2 separate regions of the Homo sapiens genome follow, and region 2 is linked to region 1. The links are contacts of gene promoters, found by promoter capture Hi-C in human tissues and cell types (Jung and others, 2019). All regions are on one chromosome and are shown on one strand. The core of a region is centred on a gene start or on the middle of the fragment in contact, and the rest is flanking DNA. Distances in the headings are between cores, read along the strand shown.

Region 1 (2,500 bases), core at 1-2,500:
GGGTCCTCCGGCCCCGCTCCTGCTGCGGCTCCCGCTTCGCCCTCGCCTGCCGCCGCTGGCACCTGCCCCACCGCCTTTCCGACCTGGTGGCGCGGAGCCCGGGCCGTCGAGGCCTGCATTGTTTCTGGCTCGGCGCCCCGCTGCGCCCGGTTGTCGCTCGCGTCCTTGGCCGGCCCAGTGTCCCGAGGAGCCCGCGAGCTGTCCTCGAAGGTCCTGGAGGCCATAGCTGCCCGAGAGCCCCGTCCAGGTCCGGTCCCCAGCGGACTCGAGTCGGAGTCCCCGCCGGAATGCTCGCTGGCTCCCAGGGGCCCCGTCCCCGACGACCCTTCCCGGCCCCGGGTATCTGCGTGGGGCCAGTCGCTGTCCAGGCCGTCGCTGCTTGGCTCCAGCGCTGACTCCGGCCCGGTTTTTGTCCCTTCCGAGCCCATGTCCGTAGGCTCCGGCGTGGGCCGCAGCTCCCGGGCTGTGCCGCGCTGGCTGCCGCTCTCCTGGGCCTCGCGGGTTTCGCTGTCCGGACAGGAGCTGCCTCCGTCCCCACCCGACGTGTCCCCATTGAGGCTCCTGGGCGTCCGGCGGCCCCGCCGAGCCGAGGGCCCCTTATCTTTCCGCTTCCTCCTACGGCGGCCGCCCAGCTCTTCTCCTCCGGAGAGGCTTCCCTCCTCCAGGCGCCCCCCGCGGCCGCCCCTGGGCCCGCGTCCCTGACGCTGCGCGTTGCTTTGCCTCTCCTGGGCTTTCGGGGACAGCCCAGCCCCTGGGCGTCTGCAGCCGCCGTTCCCCTCTGCAGTGGGCTTCCTGCGGCCACCAGGGGTTCCCTGGCCCCCGGCGGTGGCAGGCTCGGCCGCCGGTTTCGCCCTGTCCGCCTGCCCGCGGTCGGAACGGCGTTCCCGGCTGGGCGCGCCATCCGCGCTGGCCGACCCCGACTCCTGCTCCCCTGAGGCCGGCCTCCCGGGCCTCTCCAGGCGCTGGGGCGCTTTGCGCTGGTTCCTGCCCATGGCTGGCCCAAAGGAGACGGGCTTCCCGACGCCCAGGTCCTTTCCCCTCCCCGGGGATTTGGCCTCCCGCGGTGACCTTCTGTGCAGTGCACCACCCGGCTCTGCTCTCGCAGGGGCTACAGGCTCTACTCCCCGAGGTGCCCGCCTTACAGGACCATCAATAATGCAGAAGGCGGCGGGTCCTGACCCCCTCGGCCAACAATGGAATAGAGGCGCCCAGGAAACAGGAGACGCTACAGCTGCGGACAGGGCAACAGTGCCGCCGGGAGGCGCTGCCAGCCAGGCCAGCCTCGCACCGCGCCAGACTGAGGGGGTCCATGCTCCACTCCCACCTCAGTGCTTGCCCAGCAAGGAAGGGCCCAGAGAACCTGTCTGGACTTCTTCCTTCTGAGGGTTCCAAGGGACTGGGGCCAGGCCCACCCTGGCACACGGCAGCACTCCATGAGTCGCTAGGGTTTTTGTTCTTTTCAATTGTGGAATAAATACAATTTACCGAAAAGTACATAAAACATAAATGTACATCTTGAACTGGTGTAAAACATGCCTGTCTACCTCCTTGGAGTTGTGGAACAGAACCACACCCCATACATTCCTGATTGCCCCAATGTGTGTGTTTTTAAAATATCTATTTTTAAAACAGGTAATACATTCACATAATTCAAACATCCAAACATTACAAGATAAAAGTCTCCCATTCCTGACCCTCAGCCTATGTACTCAGTGTTCCCCTGAGGTTACCCATTTCTGTATTTCCTTGCAAAATTTTCCAGGTTGGCCGGGCGCGGTGGCTCACGCCTGTAATCCCAGCACTCTGGGAGGCCAAGGAGGGCGGATCACGAGGTCAGGAGATGGAGACCATCCTGGCTAACATGGTGAAACCCCCGTCTCTACTAAAAAATACGATAAATTAGCCGGTCGTGGTGGGGGGCGCCTGTAGTCCCAGCTACTCGGGAGGCTGAGGCAAGAGAATGGCATGAACCCAGGAGGCAGGAGAGAATGGCATGAACCCAGGAGGCAGAGCTTGCAGTGAGCTGAGATCACACCACTGCACTCCAGCCTGGGTGACAGCATTTTGTTTGTCTCAAAAACAAAGAAACAACAACAAAAACTTTCCATGCAGAGAAAAGCAAATATTATATTTTTCCCCTTTAGCACAAGTGGTAGCTTATGTAGCTCCGGGGTCTCCACTTTGCCTTTTTCACTTAACAATGTAATCTGGTGATTTCATAATAATACCATAAAAAGCCAGCCTGCCTTCCTCCCTTCTCTCCTCCCTCTCTTCCTTGCAAATAAATGCACCATGGTTGAACCAATTCCTTATTGATGGGTTTCTACATCCAAAGTGGATCCTGGCCAAGTGAGGTGGCTCATGCCTGTAATCCCAGCATTTTGGGAGGCCGAAGTGGGTGGATCACCTGATGTCAGGAGTTCGAGATCTGCCTGGCCAACATGGTGAAACCCCATCTCTACTAAAAATACAAAAATTACCTAGGTGTGGTGGCACATGC
Region 2 (3,066 bases), core at 172-2,671, 130 kb before region 1:
CTTTATGTACCAGCAGGTCCCTGGAGTGTGTGACTGCCACCCTGAATGCCATCACACTGCAGCACAGGCAGTTTCCCCCCCACAGGGACACACACACACACACACACACACACACACACACAGGCCATGCCCACCCACCCACAGGCTCAGAGCTCCCCTGGCCCCCATCCCAACCCCTGGGGACCCCTCTGGGCACACCTGCTCCTGTCCACTATCCTCTCCCGCTGTCACATCTCCTCCCCTCAGGGACCCAGGCCCTTCCTCGCCCCAGAGAGGCAGCTGGCCAGAAGTCTGGGGACCCCAGGCCCTTGGCTGTTCTGTCTCCCTGAGAAATCAGGGTCGAGTAGACAGACATACCTCCCCTCCTGTCCCTCCTGCTGTCCTTCCCTCAGCCCCCAGGATGGAGACTCCAAGCCTTCACTGCCAGCTCTGTTTCGGACAGCAACAACCATGCCACCTGTGCCTGGTCCTTGTCCTCAGGGTGTGGCAAGGCCATGGGGGCAGAGGAGAAGCCCTGTCCCTGCTCCTGGGAGTCACCAGGAGCCCCAGAGCCCCAGTCCCAGCCAGAGGGCCACCCCAGAGGCTGAGCCATGGGAAAGAGGGCGGATGCTGCAGGAGGTGGCAGTGTTGGGCACAGCCCTGGGGCTGGTGGGTGAGGCCTGTAGAGCTTCCTGAAGGAAGGCGCCTGGGGCTGACTTTGGGAGGAAGGCAGGCCTGTGCTTGGCCAAGAGAAAAGGAAAATCAGGGACTCCCCAGCCCCAGATGGACTGTGGCACCGCATAGAGCAAGCCCTGCCTGGAGCCGGGATGGCGTCTGCCTCTCAGGGTGGCTTTTAAAAGTAGGAGCCAATGTTAGAAAGAACGAAATTTCACATAAAAGTCAGGAATGTTGGTTTATCATTAGATGCGCCATGATGGGCTGGGCCCAGCACTCAGGCTGGTGTCTACTCCACCTTCTTTGCAAACCCTGGAGGGGCCCAGCCCCAGAGGGCTACCAGCCACTGGCCTCTGCCCACTTCTCCCGCAGGCGCACCCAAGGCGCTCCTCTGGCCTGGAGGTCTGATGGGCACCACCCTTCTCTAGCTGCCCTGCCCCTTGGCTGCCAGCTGCCCCCGGCGCACCCCGGGGAGGCTGGGCACCTGTCCTGCGCAGCGTGGACAGAGGGACCGGGGCCTGTCAGCCTTCAGGGAGGGGAAGGGGAGACAAAAGCCACCGGCCCTGCCCGACCAGCTCCCCTGCGCGGCTGCCCAGCTGGGGCGGGCACTCACCCTCTCCCGGCCAGCCTCGGCTGCTGCTGTGCGCCCGTCCTGGACCTACCTCGGGGCGGACTCGCTCCCTCCGCGCCTGGGCTGCCGCTAGGAGATGGGGCTGCAGCGCGCGGGCGAGCAGGGACTGTCCGAGGGCGGGCGCGGGGGTTGGGGGGGTGGGGACGAGGCGGGCAGCGCTTTATGGGGCGGGCGCGCAGGTAGGAAGGAGGCGCTGGTGAGTCAGACCGGCTGCATTCCTTCGCGCGGCGCGCACCTGTCGGGGCAGGAGCTGGGTGCCGCCGCCGGAGCCGGGTCCGCCCCCCGGAAAGGGCTGCGGCTCCCGCGGCGCCCGCCCAGCGCCCCGATCGGCTAGCGGCGGGGGCCGGGGGAGGAGCCACCGCTCTCCCTCTCCCTCCGGTCCGGCCCTGGGCGCGGGGCCTCCCCACCCCTCCAGGCTCCGGGCTCCAGGCTCGGGTGCGCGGACTGCCCCGGGCTGGAGGCGGCCTCTTAGCCCCCGTCCGCACGGGAACCCTCCCTGCCCCGACTCTGGGCCGCTAGCCAACGCCGGGCTGTGCTGCTGCTGCTGCCCCGACGGTCGTCAGCCGCGTACCCCCCTCCCCGCTCTCCGTGCCAGCGCGAGGCATGGGCCCAGGGAGTGCCCCCGGCCCGGTCGGGAGGCCTGACTCCCCGTCCCAGCTCTGCTCTGCAGTTCACGGGGTCCTCTCAGCCTCCAACCCCTAACCTCACGTTGTATCCAGAGGGAGAGCCGAGGAAGGGTCGGGTCCTCGGTGCACCCTTCAACAAGCTACTTAAATCTCCTTACAGTGTGAACAGTGATACCCTGGAGAGGTCAGTGCCGACCTGGCATGGATTGGCACTCGATGCCTTGTTACAGTTGTTCTTAACAAGCTGGTTACAGAGCTGGCCCCTCCCTCCCGTCAGTCCTCTGAGAGCAGTCTCTCCATTGCCACTGCTTACCACGGGTGTTCAGGTCAGAGAAGGGCTTCATTTTTCTTTTTCTTTTTGTTTTCTCTCTCTTTTTTTTTTTAGATGGAGTCTCACTCTGTCGCCGAGGCTGGAGTGCAGTGGTGCAATCTTGGCTCACTGCAACCTCTGCCTCCCGGGTTCAAGCGCTTCTCCTGCCTGTTTCCCGAGTAGCTGGGATTACAGGTGCCCGCCACCACGCCCGGCTAATTTTTGTATTTTTAGTACATCATGTTGGCCAGGCTGGTCTCGAACTCCTGACCTCAGGTGATCCACCCGTCTTGGCCTTCCAAAGTGCTGGGATTATAGGCGTGAACCACCATGCCCAGCCAGGGCTCCATTTTTCTCTAGGCTTACTGGCCAGCAATGCCAAACAACACCAGACTGCTGGCACAGCACTGTCCAAACCATGCGGTTTCAAGCCACCGTGCTTTTTCAACAGGCTGGTCCCTTCCCATGACATTGAGCCCAGTTTATCCTTCTTGTCCTTGAAGACGTTGCACCAACCACGTGCTAGAGAGCCTTCCTTGACCTCTCCACACCCCAAGTTGGTTTATGTGTCCCCATAACCCTTGGGCCATGGCTTTTACATGGCATTTGCCACATTGGTTTGAAATGATGTTTAGGAATCTCGCCACACTGTTGGACTGTGACTCCAAGGGCAGCTACTCTCTAGCACCTAGCACCATGCCTGGTGCATAGCAGGTGCTCAATAAAAGGGTGGTTGAGTGAATGGGATGGTCACACAGCCTCCCTGAGCCTCCATGCTGTCATCTGTAAACAGATTCCTCCACTGCTACCTCTCAGAGTGATTGCAGGGGTGCTGGTTGCAAATG

The links. The method cuts DNA at HindIII sites, captures the fragments that hold promoters and counts their contacts. A contact is called where the count stands out against the background at its distance.
Region 2: the fragment with the promoter of ITGB4 here is called in contact with the fragment with the promoter of MYO15B in region 1 in 4 of the 25 tissues and cell types used here (liver, lymphoblastoid cells, mesenchymal stem cells and 1 more).

What each region holds. Positions count from the first base shown.
Region 1 is chr17:75,586,550-75,589,049 of GRCh38, reverse strand. It overlaps MYO15B (myosin XVB), which reads right to left and starts at 1,250. Exons shown (of 64, transcript NM_001395058.1): 1 at 1-1,250. The coding sequence starts at 992. RefSeq lists a silencer at 19-148 and enhancers at 1-600, 1,029-1,098, 601-1,434. The HindIII fragment of the contact is 22,601 bases long and covers 1-2,500 here.
Region 2 is chr17:75,719,814-75,722,879 of GRCh38, reverse strand. ITGB4 (integrin subunit beta 4) reads right to left here and starts at 1,421. Exons shown (of 40, transcript NM_000213.5): 1 at 1,268-1,421. RefSeq lists enhancers at 601-1,139, 1,140-1,678 and silencers at 1,399-1,788, 1,799-1,858. The HindIII fragment of the contact is 11,256 bases long and covers 1-3,066 here.